Linked DNA regions of Homo sapiens: regions 1, 2, 4 and 5 are each linked to region 3. The links are contacts of gene promoters, found by promoter capture Hi-C in blood cells and fetal thymus (Javierre and others, 2016). All regions are on one chromosome and are shown on one strand. Each heading gives the region's core, a stretch centred on a gene start or on the middle of the fragment in contact. The rest is flanking DNA. Distances are from core to core; before and after follow the strand shown. Region 1 overlaps SLC38A6 (solute carrier family 38 member 6). Region 2 has its middle 110 kb from the start of SLC38A6. Region 3 holds the start of SIX4 (SIX homeobox 4). Region 4 has its middle 120 kb from the start of TMEM30B. Region 5 overlaps SLC38A6 (solute carrier family 38 member 6).

Region 1 (2,787 bases), core at 17-2,516, 280 kb before region 3:
CATTTTCAGCATCCGTTTCATATTACAATTAAATATGTACATTCTTATTTTTTTGAGACAGGGTCTTACTCTGTAACCCAAGCTAGAGTGCACTGGCACAATCACAGCTCACTGCAGCCTTGAACTACTGGGCTCAAGCAATCCTCCTGCCTCAGCCCCTGGAGTTGCTGGGACCACAGGCACATGCAAATACACCAGGCCCAGGCTAACTTTTCATTTTTTACTTTTTGTATAGGCAGGGTTTCACTATGTTGCCCAGGTTAATCTCAAACTCTTGGACTCAAGCCATCCTCCTACCTTGGCCTCACAAAGTGCTGGGATTACTGGTGTGAGCCACTGCATCTGGTCTGTTCTTTTATTTTATTTTATTTTATTATTATTAAAGTTTTAGGGTACATGTGCACAATGTGAAGGTTAGATACATATGTATACATGTGCCACGCTGGTGTGCTGCACCCATTAACTCGTCATTTAGCATTAGGTATATCTCCTAATGCTATCCCTCTCCCTTCCTCCCACCCCACAACAGTCCTCAGAGTGTGATGTTCCCCTTCCTGCGTCCATGTGTTCTCATTGTTCAATTCCCACCTATGAGTAAGAACATGTGGTGTTTGGTTTTTTGTCCTTGGGATAGTTTGCTGAGAATGATGATTTCCAATTTCATCCATGTCCCTACAAAGGACATGAACTCATCATTTTTTATGGCTGCATAGTATTCCATGGTGTATATGTGCCACATTTTCTTAATCCACTCTATCATTGTTGGACATTTGGCTTGGTTCCAAGTCTTTGCTATTGTGAATAGTGCCGCAATAAACATATGTGTGCATGTGTCTTTATAGCAGCATGATTTATAGTCCTTTGGGTATATACCCAGTAATGGGATGGCTGGGTCAAATGGTATTTCTAGTTCTAGATCCCTGAGGAATCGCCACACTGACTTCCACAATGGTTGAACTAGTTTACAGTCCCACCAACAGTGTAAGTGTTTCTATTTCTCCACATCCTCTCCAGCACCTGTTGTTTCCTGACTTTTTAATGACTGCCATTCTAACTGGTGTGAGATGGTATCTCATTGTGGTTTTGATTTGCATTTCTCTGATGGCCAGTGATGGTGAGCATTTTTTCATGTGTTTTTTGGCTGCATAAATGTCTTCTTTTGAGAAGTATCTGTTCATGTCCTTCGCCCACTTTTTGATGGGGTTGTTTTTTTCCTGTAAATTTGTTTGAGTTCATTGTAGATTCTAGATATTAGCCCTTTGTCAGATGAGTAGGTTGTGAAAATTTTCTCCCATTTTGTAGGTTGCCTGTTCACTCTGATGGTAGTTTCTTTTGCTGTGAAGAAGCTCTTTAGTTTAATTAGATCTCATTTGTCAATTTTGGCTTTTGTTGCCATTGCTTTTGATGTTTTAGACACGAAGTCCTTGCCCATGCCTATGTCCTCAATGGTAATGCCTAAGTTTTCTTCTAGGGTTTTTATGGTTTTAGATCTAATGTTTAAGTCTTTAATCCATCTTGAATTAATTTTTGTATAAGGTGTAAGGAAGGGATCCAGTTTCAGCTTTCTACATATGGCTAGCCAGTTTTCCCAGCACCATTTATTAAATAGGGAATCCCTTCCCCATTGCTTGTTTTTCTCAGGTTTGTCAAAGATCAGATAGGTGTAGATATGCGGCATTATTTCTGAGGGCTCTGTTCTGTTCCATTGATCTATATCTCTGTTTTGGTACCAGTACCATGCTGTTTTGGTTACTGTAGCCTTGTAGTATAGTTTGAAGTCAGGTAGCGTGATGCCTCCAGCTTTGTTCTTTTGGCTTAGGATTGACTTGGCAATGCGGGCTCTTTTTTGGTTCCATATGAACTTTAGTTTTTTCCAACTCTGTGAAGAAAGTCATTGGTAGCTTGATGGGGATGGCATTGAATCTATAAATTACCTTGGGCAGTATGGCGATTTTCATGATATTGATTCTTCCTACCCATGAGCATGGAATGTTCTTCCATTTCTTTGTATCTTCTTTTATTTCATTAAGCAGTGGTTTGTAGTTCTCCTTGAAGAGGTCCTTCACATCCCTTCTAAGTTGGATTCCTAGGTACTTTATTCTCTTTGAAGCAATTGTGAATGGGAGTTCACTCATGATTTGGCTCTCTGTTTGTCTGTTATTGGTGTATAAGAATGCTTGTGATTTTTGTACATTGATTTTGTATCCTGAGACTTTGCTGAAGTTGCTTATCAGCTTAAGGAGATTTTGGGCTGAGACAATGGGGTTTTCTAGATATACAATCATGTCATCTGCAAACAGGGACAATTTGACTTCCTCTTTTCCTAATTGAATATCCTTTATTTCCTTCTCCTGCATGATTGCCCTGGCCAGAACTTCCAACACTATGTTGAATAGGAGTGGTGAGAGAGGGCATCCCTGTCTTGTGCCAGTTTTCAAAGGGAATGCTTCCAGTTTTTGCCCATTCAGTATGATATTGGCTGTGGGTTTGTCATAGATAGCTCTTCTAATTTGGAGATACGTCCCATCAATACCTAATTTATTGTTTTTAGCATGAATGGGCTGAACTTTGTCAAAGGCCTTTTCTGCATCTATTGAGATAAACATGTGGTTTTTGTCTTTGGTTCTGTTTATATGCTGGATTACATTTATTGATTTGCGTATATTGAACCAGCCTTGCATCCTAGGGATGAAGCCCACTTGATCATGGTGGATAAGCTTTTTGATGTGCTGCTGGATTCAGTTTGCCAGTATTTTATTGAGGATTTTTGCATCCATGTTCATCAAG
Region 2 (2,769 bases), core at 8-2,507, 370 kb before region 3:
GGAGTTGGTTGAAAATTCAATATTAATTTACAAAAAATGGTTGCATTTAAGAAGTCAAAACTGAGGCCTGCTTGTGGGCGTCTGTGCCTTCTGCATTCTGGGTCTGTGAAATATCCTGGGTCAACCGAGGATCACTGTCCTTGATTGGATTGCATCAGTCTTTCTCTTTCTAAAGCAGTCTGTGGAAAACATCAAGAAGGGTTTTGTTTTGTTTTCTCAGAATTTTTTTTCCTTTCTCTATTTCTCCTACTGGAAAATTCTTACCACAATTGTTGATGGTTGTTTCATTTGATTTTAAGAGATGCATGGCCGCAAGGGCCGTGGGAGTACAAATCAATAGCTGTGATCACTGCTGGATCCTCTTGGAGGGTTTTCCCCTTTTTTGCCTGTAGCACACAATCTACATAGTCCTTGAGGGGAGCCTTACCTGGCCTGGTTCGGGCTTTTCTCTAGCTGCCAGATTGAAGTGTGACAACCACAGAGGTGGCTGTGGGGCTTTTGCTCCTCTCCTCTTGTCCCCAGAAGATTTAGAGTCCGCATTCTCAGCTACTCGGGTGCTCTCAGTTCCAGATCCAGTCATTTCCCCTCTAGCTCCCCTGTTCTTAACAGAGTCCCTCTCCATACTCACTCACTCACTGACTCACTTAATTCACACAATACTTTGTCTAGATCTGTGACCTTAATTTGTAAGTGCAGTGATGGTTGCACATTAGTTATTATGCTGGTCCTTCCAACACAAACTGCATACATTTTCATCCTCTAAGGTCCTAGAACTATTTTTCTGCACTCTAATGCTGGAATTTCAAGACACCAAAACAAAACAGGTGGGATTTAGAGGCAGGCTGGCCTTGGAGGTGGTCTTTCAATCACAATCCGCTCTGACTGCTCTATTCAGATCTTGGGAATGAAGTTTCGACAACATCTGGGACTGAAGTCAGTTTACATATTTTGATACCATGTCAATCCAAAAGGAATTCTTTTGGAGGTGTTTGGGTTTGAGGTACTTGAGCAAATGATTCTAAAGTATATTTAAGAGAACAGATATGTGAGAATAGCCAAGAAAATTTTTAAAAAGAGAATAAGGGCAGGGTCCATGCTTGATTAGCTATGAAAACACAGGAGTTCCCCTCCTGCTTACTATAAAGAAAGCTTAAAATAGTGTCTCTCCCACCCTAACAACAACAATAAAGTCAGATGACCAAAAACCCATACCTTTTCTTGAGTCCACCAGAAAGCTGAGATCACACGGAACCCAAAAGCCTGAAATCTAAGGAAAGGCTGCGTCCCCAAGAAGAGATGTGGCTGAGTATGGGAAGAAACACTGGGTGCCATACAAAAACATAAAAAGAATTCATCTAAAGCTTTTAACAAATTACTAAAGGCCAGAAGCAGACTAGCATGAGTGTAGCACCCCTGGGGGCTGCAGACACAAGAGGAATTGGTGCCCACTTGCAGGCTCTTCTCCACTCCCTTCCACCTACTGATTGAGAAAGGACTGAAGGCAGGGTGGGAGAGCAAAGAAGCCTCCCTGCACAGTGCAGGCCCAGGAAAGAGGGGCAACATTGCTGAAGGAAAGGCATAAGGCTACAGCCACACCCTCCTCCCACCTAAGCCACTGGGGAGGGACAGTACAGCCTGTTGCAGTCAGGGCACAGGTGAAGACCTACTGCAGCTTGGGGAAGGGGAAAGCCAAAACACCCTTGATCCCTGGGGAACGGGCAAGAAACAGTCCTGAGCCCCAGATCCAGACATTCTCTCCTGCACATGACACAAGGCAGGGTTCAGCTGCCACAGGAGGAGGAGGAGGAGGGGCAGGATTTCTGAGAAAGCCTTACTCCTAAGATCCAGGCATACAGGGCCTGCCAAAGCCTGAGAGTGTACTAGGATCAAGCGCACCCCTGACTCCCCAGCACTAAGTAACAAGCAACAACATTCTACCCCAAGGCTGAAGACTTCTCATTAAATATTAAAACTTCTGAAATCTTGAAATTGTTTAATTAATTGAGTAATTTAGCCCTAGCATAGATTAAGGAGACATTAAGAAAAGTTCAGAAATACAGAGTTCACAAATTCAAACATACTTAAGAATTTAGTAACTCTGAAGAAAATGTTAGCTAGTACCTCGTACCTTAAAACAAAATTAGTTCTATATGATTATTTTATTAAAAAAAAACACATAAGAGTACCAGTAAAAAATGTAAATACTGTTACCATTTTGGGACGGGAAAGTTATTTTGAAGTATCAACCAAAGACAGAAACTATAAAGCATTGTTTAATAGACTATATACAAATGGGGAAAAAATTCAGAATAGAATAAACAAAGCAAAAACACAAATAAAAATTGGGGGAAAATAGCAATATACATGGCCATTATACCTTAATATATATGATGTATAGATCCACAGATGTTAGACAGATAGATGCCTTAATATAAAAGGAGAATCATTTGAACCTGGGAGGTGGAGGTTGCAATGAGCTGAGATCATGCCACTGCACTCCAGCCTGGGTGACAGACAGAGACTCCATCTCAAAAAAAAAATTATATATATATACACACACACACACACATATATATATATATATATATATATATATATATACATACACACACACATATATATATATACACACATATATATATATATACTTATATATATAAATATAAATAAAATTATGAGCTCTTATAAATTAAATAAAAAGTATGTTCCTTTCCCTCAAAAGAATTATGAACAAAAGACAATAGCAGTCACTCACAAAGCAATAATCAC
Region 3 (3,003 bases), core at 258-2,757:
TTGATTGACCAGCAATAAAATAAAGCCTGTCTACAAAAAAAAAGAAAATCTCACCAAGTTTATCATGACGGCAGGTGACCTAGACAGCTGCTTTGTAATATGCTGAAGTAGGCAGCTATGAGTAGCTGGGAAGCATACACAATACAAGGCCACCCTGAAGCAAAGGTTAGGATGATGTCATTAAAATGTTGAATTTTGAGAGGCCGAGGCGGACGGATCACGAGGTCAGGAGATCGAGACCATCCTGGCTAACGTGGTGAAACCCCGTCTCTACTAAAAAATACAAAAAAAAAAAAAAAAAAAAAATTAGCTGGGCGTGGTGGCGGGCGCCTGTAGTCCCAGCTACTCGGGAGGCTGAGGCAGGAGAATGGCGTGAACCCAGGAGGCGGAGCTTGCAGTGAGCCGAGATCACACCACTGCACTCCAGCCTGGGCGACAGAGCGAGACTCCATCTCGGGGGGAAAAAAAGTTGAATTTTGAGAAAGAGCAGCAGCAGGCAAACCCAACTGACCTACAGTAATCAAAGAAGCAGAAATGGATCATCCCTTTTGGAATTAAGATCTTGTGCAAATTACAAAGGAAAGAGACACAACTGCAAACAACAAAAGACTCTACCCCCACTTCAGCATCAAACCAGAGGGCAATCTGTCTATGCTGTGGAAAAGGGCTTCTGATCCTGCACTGATCTGGATGACACCCGCACATTCAGTGTTTCTAGCCTATCATCGTTAAAAAAGAAATACTCATATACTTACATTAAAAAGTTCATGTAGAAAACTTAAATTTCCATATTTAAAGCTTAGATCTCTTCCACACGACTCATCCAGGATAAACTTATGGTTTAATATTCTACATGTTTAATTATACCATGTTCAACTCAGTTGGGTTGCCAGCCCTCCACGTGGCTTAAGGTTAAGTACATTTTTTGAAGGCTTCTTGTTTTTGTCTTCTCAGTGTGCTATTTATGCTGCTAATTATAAGGTTTTCAAGCATTTTTCCCTCTTTGGAATTTTAATTTACTGTAAATGCTTGCCCCTTAGAACATTTCCTAGTGTCATTTTATTTTTGACCGTTTTGAATACAAAATCCTTGATAAAGACATCCAAAAAGAGGGAGAATGGGGAACAGGGACATACTGGGGGGCTTCTGAATTGTCCTCTGAAGTTTTGTCATCTAGATGCTGAGGGTGGTCTCTTTGTTAAAAATTTAACCATCCAGACCTTAAGGCCACACAATTAATATTCCCTCTGGAATTGTAGGGCCTCTGTTTGAAAGAGTTGTCCAGTTTTCAGGCCACATTAGGTAATTTCCCGCCCAGGAGCGTGGCTTGGAAAGAATGTCGGTGTTTTCCTTCAGGTATAGGTGCCTGGGGGTCAGGAGGGGAGGGAAAGGCGAGGGGTGGAGTGGGAGGCGGGTGATCGACAGGGATAGAAACTGTGTCTCCTCCTCCCTCTGAATGCGAAATAGCCAATGAGGTGGCTAGGCCGGGCCGGCCCGGCCGCCACTGCCATATAGTATGCAGCAACCGGAGGAGTCACGTTGGGGGAACGGCAGAAAGCAGCTATCCGTTTACACTACTTTGCTCTAACAGCTATCTTAATGGTGACTGCGTGGCCGGGGGGAAACCTGATCGGCCAGATACAGCCGAAACCAGGAGGGAGGGAGTGGGCTTTCCGGAGGGGGAGAGGAGGGAGGGAGACGAAGGAGGAGGAGTAAGAGAGGAGGAAAGAAAGAGGAAAAGAGTGCGAGGGAGTGAGGGAGGGAGGAAAATAAACAACAAAAAATGTCCTCTTCCTCCCCCACCGGGCAGATCGCAAGTGCGGCGGACATCAAGCAAGAGAATGGGATGGAAAGCGCCTCGGAAGGGCAGGAGGCGCACCGAGAAGTGGCGGGGGGCGCGGCGGTAGGGCTGAGCCCCCCGGCTCCAGCCCCTTTTCCCCTGGAGCCGGGGGACGCCGCGACCGCTGCCGCCAGGGTGAGCGGAGAGGAAGGGGCAGTGGCGGCGGCGGCGGCCGGAGCGGCGGCGGATCAGGTACAACTCCACTCGGAACTTCTGGGCAGGCACCACCACGCCGCCGCCGCCGCCGCGCAGACCCCGCTGGCCTTCTCGCCCGACCACGTCGCCTGCGTGTGCGAGGCACTGCAGCAGGGGGGCAACCTGGACCGCCTGGCCCGGTTCCTGTGGTCCCTGCCCCAGAGCGACCTGCTACGTGGCAACGAGAGCCTGCTGAAGGCGCGGGCGCTCGTGGCCTTCCACCAGGGCATCTACCCCGAGCTCTACAGCATCCTCGAGAGCCACAGCTTCGAGTCGGCCAACCACCCGCTGCTGCAGCAGCTCTGGTACAAGGCGCGCTACACCGAGGCCGAGCGAGCCCGCGGCCGGCCGCTGGGAGCCGTAGACAAGTACCGGCTGCGCAGGAAATTCCCCCTGCCCCGCACCATCTGGGACGGCGAGGAGACGGTGTATTGTTTCAAGGAGAAGTCGCGCAACGCGCTCAAGGAGCTCTACAAGCAGAATCGCTACCCTTCGCCCGCCGAGAAGCGGCACCTGGCCAAGATCACCGGCCTCTCCCTCACCCAGGTCAGCAACTGGTTCAAGAACCGCCGGCAGCGCGACAGGAACCCCTCCGAGACCCAGTCCAAAAGGTGAGCGCCAACTTTCCTCCTCCTCCCCCTTCCTCTCCCCCACCCCCTTCCCGGCTTTCTTTTCCTCCAAGTGCTCGCAAACATGGCGCTTACCTTCCCCACCAGCCTGGTCCGGCTGCCCACCTCTCCCCGCCCCCTACCTCGCTCCCCGGCCGGCAGAGGTAGGGGGCGGCGGAGGCGGGGGGCGGGGGAACCTCCCTCCTTACCCTCCCCCTCTCCCCCCAGAAGTTTCTGGTCGCCCGCCTAGGTCTCAGTCCCCGCCCCCACCTCGGCTGGTCACTGCTGCCCAGCTTCCCACCCCCATCCCGCTGGCTTTGAAGTTGCCACCCTCTCCCCGTTTCTGGAGGGGCTAACGAA
Region 4 (2,850 bases), core at 325-2,824, 440 kb before region 3:
ATAATGCCTTTGAGATTCACCATGTTATTACATGTATCAGTAGTTTACTTCTTTTTGTTATTGAGAAGTATTCCATTATAAGGAAATACTATAATTTGTGTGTACATGAATAAACAAATTTTTTATTTGAATTATTTTCAGCTTTTAGCTACTGGAGATGAAATTGCTATGAACATTTATGTACATATCTTTGGGTGAACACATGTTTTTATTTCTCTAATGTAAATATCTAAGAATTGAATTACTGGGTCATATGATAAGTATATATTAAATTTTATAAAAAGCTTTTAAATTGTTATTCAAAGGACTGCACCATATCACATTTCCCATTAGTAATGTAAGAGAGTTCCAGGTGCTCCATGTCCTCACCAATGTGTAGTATTATAAATATTTTTAATTTTAGCCATTCTAATGCATGTAATGGTACCTCATTGTGTTTTTAATTTGTGTTTCCCTAATGATGAATGAGCATTTTTCATGTCCTTATTTAGCATTTGGATATCTTCTTTGGTGAACTGGCAGTTCAAATCTTTTGCCCATTTGTTTCTCATTTACTATTTGAAACTCATTCAAAAAGAAATAGATAGTAATCCATTATCAGTTAAGGAAATTAGATTTGTACTTATCCTTCTCACAAAGAAGGATCTGATGACTTCAGTGGTGAACTTAACATTAAGGTATAACTATTACCAATTCAACTGGGAATACTTCCCAGTTCATTTTATGAGTCCAGCTTTACCCTGATACCAAAACCAAAGACATTACAGAAAAAGAAAACTAAAAATAAATTTCTCTCATGACATAGCCCCCACACCCAAATTTAACAGATTTGAACAAATCAAATCCAGTAATATATAAAAAAGGTAATACATCATGACCAAGTGGTTGGTATTTGTCTCAGAATGTAAGTTTGGTTTAATACTAAAAACTGTTAGTGTAATTCACCATATTAACAGACTGAAAAAGTAAAATTGACTAATTATCTCAATAGATGCACATAAAGCATTTGACAAAATTCAATTTCGATTCATGATAAAAGCTCAGCAAACCAGGAATAGATGGGAATTTCTTCATTCTGATCAAAAATCAGGCATGGAAGACCTACAGGTAACATTATAGTTAGTTGTAAAAGACTGAATGCTTTCCTCTAGGATTATGTCCTATCTTATTACTCTTACTACTTATATTCATCACTGTACTGGAGATCCTGGAAATGGGGCGGAGGTTGGGTAGGGTGGAGGCAGGGGGTAGAGGAAGCATGGCCAGTGGACAAGAGGAAGTAAAACTTTCTTCCTTTGTAGGCAACATGATTATCTACATGGAAAATCCTAAAGAATTCTCAAATAGGTTACAAGAATGAATAAGTAAGATTAGAAAAGTTGAAATATGCAAGTTTATTAAACAAAGATCAATTGTATCTTTTTTTGGTCACTATATTAGGGTTCTCTAGAAGGACAGAACTAATAGGATAGATGCATATATAAAGGGGAGTTTATTAAGGAGTATTGGCTTACACGATCACAAGGTCCCACAATAGGCCATCTGCAAGCTGAGGAGCAAGGAAGCCAGTCCGAGTCCCAAAGCTGAAGAACTTGGAGTCCAATGTTCAAGGGCAGGAAGCATCTGGCACGGGAGGAAGGTGTAGTCTGGGAGGCTAAGCCAGTCTAATGTTTTCACGTTCCTCTGCCTGCTTTTATTCTGGCTACACTGGCCGCTGATTAGATTAGCTGATTAGATTAGCTGATTAGATTGTTACCGCCCAGATTAAGGGTGGATCTGCCTTTCCCAGTCCACTGACTCAAATATTAATCTCCTTTGGCAGCACCCTCACAGACACACCCAGGAAAAATACTTTGCATCCTTCAATCCAAACAAGTTGCCACTCAGTATTAACCATCACAGTCACAAAGAGTTAGGACTTGAGAATTTAAAATATAACATTTGGGCTGGACGTGGTGGCTCACGCCTGTAATCCCAGCACTTTGGGAGGCCGAGGCAAGCAGATCACGAGGTCAGGAGATCGAGACCATCCTGGCTAACATGGTGAAACCCCGTCTCTACTAAAAATAAAAAAAATTAGCTGGGCATGGTGGCGGGCACCTGTAGTCCCAGCTACTCGGGAGGCTGAGGTAGGAGAATGGCATGAACCCGGGAGGCGGAGGTTGTAGTGAGCCAAGATTGCACCACTGCACTCCAACCTGGGCAACAGAGTGAGATTCTGTTTCAAAAGAAAAATAAAATAAAATAAAATGTAACACAATGGCATCTAAAAACATGAAAATACCTAGGTATAAATTTAACAAAATGTGTGCAACACCTGGATACTAAAACATAAAACTTCATGGAATGAAATTAAAGAAAGACAGGTTAATAGAGAGATATTCCACATTTATGAGTCAGAAAACTCAATAATGTTAAAATCTCAGTTCTTCCCAAATTAATGTATAGACTCAACACAATCCAAATCAATATTCTAACAGATTTTTTATAGAAATCAATAGTTATTTAAATGTTTTTATTAAAATGCAAAATTATTTTGAAAAAGATAAAAGTTGGAGGAATTACACTGCCTGATTTTAAGATTTATCACAAAGCTACATAATTAGGGCAATGTGGTGTTGGATAGACAGATAGATCTGTGGAACAGAATGGGGGCCTAGAAATAGATCCACACATATATTGTCAATTGATTTTCAGTGAAGGTGCCAATGTAATGCCATAGGGAAAGGAAAGTCTTTTCAAAAAGCCACTGGATGTCCATAAGAAAATAAAATGATTCTTTACCCTAATCTCACATGTTATACACAATTTATTTACATAAATGGATAATAGAACTAACTGTAAGAGCCG
Region 5 (2,735 bases), core at 192-2,691, 300 kb before region 3:
ATTTAGAACAGTTAAATAATCACTTCTCTGTGATGAAAATATACATATACATATTTTTTCAGTTTACAACGATTTCTTTTTCCCTAGCAGAAGTACAGCTATGTCTCAGTGGGTTGACTAAAATCCACTGAGACATTTCTGCAAAATCTTTTAGTTATGGGGTATTACAACTGATTGTATGTGAAAATGTGTTCTGTATTGTTCATATTCTCGTAAGGAAAAATGCTATCAATTTGGCACAGAACAGAAGGAAGGTTTAGACTAACCTTCTCCATTCAAGGATTTGGAGTTTTTATAATATTTTACCGATTCCAAAGAACTCTACACATATGGTGCAAAGATAAAAATTGTGAACTGAATTTTCTGAAACCGGCCTAGACTTACTTAAATATATCTTGTGAGAGAGACAGAAAAGAAAAAAGACAAAATACTTTGAAAACAAGGAAAGCAGACTTCCTATAAAATGTAATTTATTATCTGCCCATCTTTCTTTCTTGCTTGGATTAATCCAACACCACATGCATTTCTAAAGTTTCAGACATTCATCTCTTTCAGTAATTTTCTATTATTTCTTTTGGACCTTTAGCTGTAGAAAGCTTCAGTGAATATGAGATCCTATTTCTTTCTAATATAATATCTGTCATTCTTTCCAGAATTTCTATTAGCCCCTGGCTAATCATCTGATCACTTTTATCCTTTGTTGTACCCTCAACTCTTTGGTTTTCAAATGGGAGTACTATTTCATTAGATTCCAGTCTGAAGAATCATGTATATTTTAAGAAATATGAACTCACCAAACGTGTTTCTCTCTCAAAGAAGACCTCACATACAAGATACAAATATAATAAAACATGCAAAACATTGCTTCTTTTCTAGAGAATGTTAGTATATATTTTAAGAGTATACAACCACAGAACTTACTATAGGGGAAAACCCACACGGATTAAGCCAGTAAAACAAAGGCCACCACCATTCTATTCACTATGAAAATTATTTTTTTCTTAATCACAAGTAAACTTTCATGTAAGAACTAGCTAGCACTTTAACACATTATATTATATATAATACAGAAAAGAAACAAAAAGATTACCAAATACACATTAAGTTAGGAAATATATCTTAATTAAATTCATACAAAAGAACAATCAGCTCAATAAAATGAACTGGAAAAGTTTTAAAGATATACTATTGATAGGAATGCTCATATTGCCTTTGTTTTTAACTAAAAGGTTTACTAGATCAAATAGCTGTCTGCCACAGTTTTTGTCTTATGTCTTTTATAAATGGCATAAGAAAGTGTTTAAGCACTTATCTTACAGACCAATCATAAGCAAAAATTTGCAAATGATTTTGGGTGACATGGACACCTAGTATAGATTCCTAAAACAAGACACACCATGTTCTACTCTAAATTAATAGCTGCAACTGGGTCATCCACAAGAGCCATGCATATAGTTAAGTGGCCCCAAACCACCAAAGCCAAAATCAGTGCCAGAAGATATACCTTGATGTCAGGTATTCAGCCATTATAAATCACTTAGTTTTAGCACATTAACTAAATAGGTATTCTTTTCTACTTAATTTTAAACTAATATAACTCATTTAATAGAAACTTCTCTGGGAAAAAATAAAACATCTGTCAACTGAAAACACAGAAGTTGAAAGCACTCTTTAAAAACAACATGGAGAAGCAACAGTAATATTAAAAAGTGACTAAAATGGGGTAAAATCTGATTAGGTAATAGCAAGTTGCAAGGTGTTAATATCTGCTGATCTAATTATAAAGTGAAATAAATGAATTGGGCCCGGGAGGTTGAGAGGAGAGATGTTAGAAACACAGAAACAGGGAAGGGACTCTGGGCAGAGATCCATGAAAACAGCTAACATCTTTGTTTTTTAGATGCCTACTGTATGCTTGGTAGTATTCTACACAAGTTATTTCCTCACTTAATCTTTACACAAACCTGTGAGGTACATATTACTTATTTCACAGAATATAAGGAAGCACAAAGAAGTAACTTGCCCAAGCTAGTGATGGTGCAAACAGCCCGCCTGGGTTGAGAAACTCGTTCTATTAACTAGTATGCCATGAGAAAGTGCAGGAGCAAAGTGAAAAAGTAAACCAACAAAACAAAGACAAATAAGGAAAGTCTACCAGAAGTACCACTCTTCAGAATTATTTTTCTTTTTTAAATCAGTATTTAAACAAACTACTTTTGAATGCTGAGATTAACAGTTGACTTCAAAGGAAATGAATATCACAGAGAACATTAGTCAGAAGCTTTAGTAACACTTAGAATTTTCATTTCATCTTGAGATATATTTTCAATGTATTTCATTTTTCAGTATTGGAGCTCCTTTGGTGATGTGATTAGTTCAAAATTCATGGAGTTTCATGATGAGATTCTATTGCATCTACTGCTATGACTCTACTGTATTTACGGCTGTGATTGTAGTTCTGAAGAGGAAGTTTCCTATTCTCACGTATTTGAAATATTAACACTCCACTGAAATCCAAAAAATAAAAATCAGTCTCTGTGCTTCCAAATACTGTATTCTTATGAGTTATTTTTCGCAGCACTCTGAAAATGCTTCCCAAGTTGTCGTTATTAAGCATACAAACTTAAAAAAAACAAACCAACCCTAATTGGAGTTTGGGCCTAAGACATCATTACAGTTTATGAAGATAAGAATCTTTTTTGTTAAACATGTAAAATATATGTATGAGGACAGAA

What was found. Contacts are between HindIII fragments. The CHiCAGO score rates a contact against its expected background, and 5 or more counts as called.
Region 1: a contact is called between a fragment that was not itself captured here and the fragment with the promoter of SIX4 in region 3, in 1 of 17 cell types (endothelial precursors). The highest score is 5.6, in endothelial precursors.
Region 2: a fragment that was not itself captured here is called in contact with the fragment with the promoter of SIX4 in region 3 in 1 of 17 cell types (erythroblasts); the score reaches 5.8 in erythroblasts.
Region 4: a contact is called between a fragment that was not itself captured here and the fragment with the promoter of SIX4 in region 3, in 1 of 17 cell types (endothelial precursors). The highest score is 5.2, in endothelial precursors.
Region 5: a fragment that was not itself captured here is called in contact with the fragment with the promoter of SIX4 in region 3 in 9 of 17 cell types (endothelial precursors, megakaryocytes, erythroblasts and 6 more); the score reaches 14.5 in endothelial precursors.

The regions. Positions count from the first base shown.
Region 1 is chr14:61,004,909-61,007,695 of GRCh38, reverse strand. The region is part of intron 3 of SLC38A6 (solute carrier family 38 member 6); the gene reads right to left. Among named protein-coding and RNA genes, the nearest start is that of SLC38A6, 25 kb to the right of the region's middle. The HindIII fragment of the contact is 2,906 bases long and covers 1-2,719 here.
Region 2 is chr14:61,088,373-61,091,141 of GRCh38, reverse strand. No RefSeq gene overlaps it. Among named protein-coding and RNA genes, the nearest start is that of SLC38A6, 110 kb to the right of the region's middle. RefSeq lists enhancers at 413-552, 1,616-2,117. The HindIII fragment of the contact is 212 bases long and covers 1,152-1,363 here.
Region 3 is chr14:60,722,855-60,725,857 of GRCh38, reverse strand. SIX4 (SIX homeobox 4) reads left to right here and starts at 1,507. Exons shown (of 3, transcript NM_017420.5): 1 at 1,507-2,646. The coding sequence starts at 1,784. RefSeq lists a silencer at 2,025-2,094. The HindIII fragment of the contact is 4,809 bases long and covers 801-3,003 here.
Region 4 is chr14:61,164,872-61,167,721 of GRCh38, reverse strand. No RefSeq gene overlaps it. Among named protein-coding and RNA genes, the nearest start is that of TMEM30B, 120 kb to the left of the region's middle. The HindIII fragment of the contact is 2,576 bases long and covers 287-2,850 here.
Region 5 is chr14:61,026,047-61,028,781 of GRCh38, reverse strand. The region is part of intron 5 of SLC38A6 (solute carrier family 38 member 6); the gene reads right to left. Among named protein-coding and RNA genes, the nearest start is that of SLC38A6, 46 kb to the right of the region's middle. The HindIII fragment of the contact is 1,685 bases long and covers 599-2,283 here.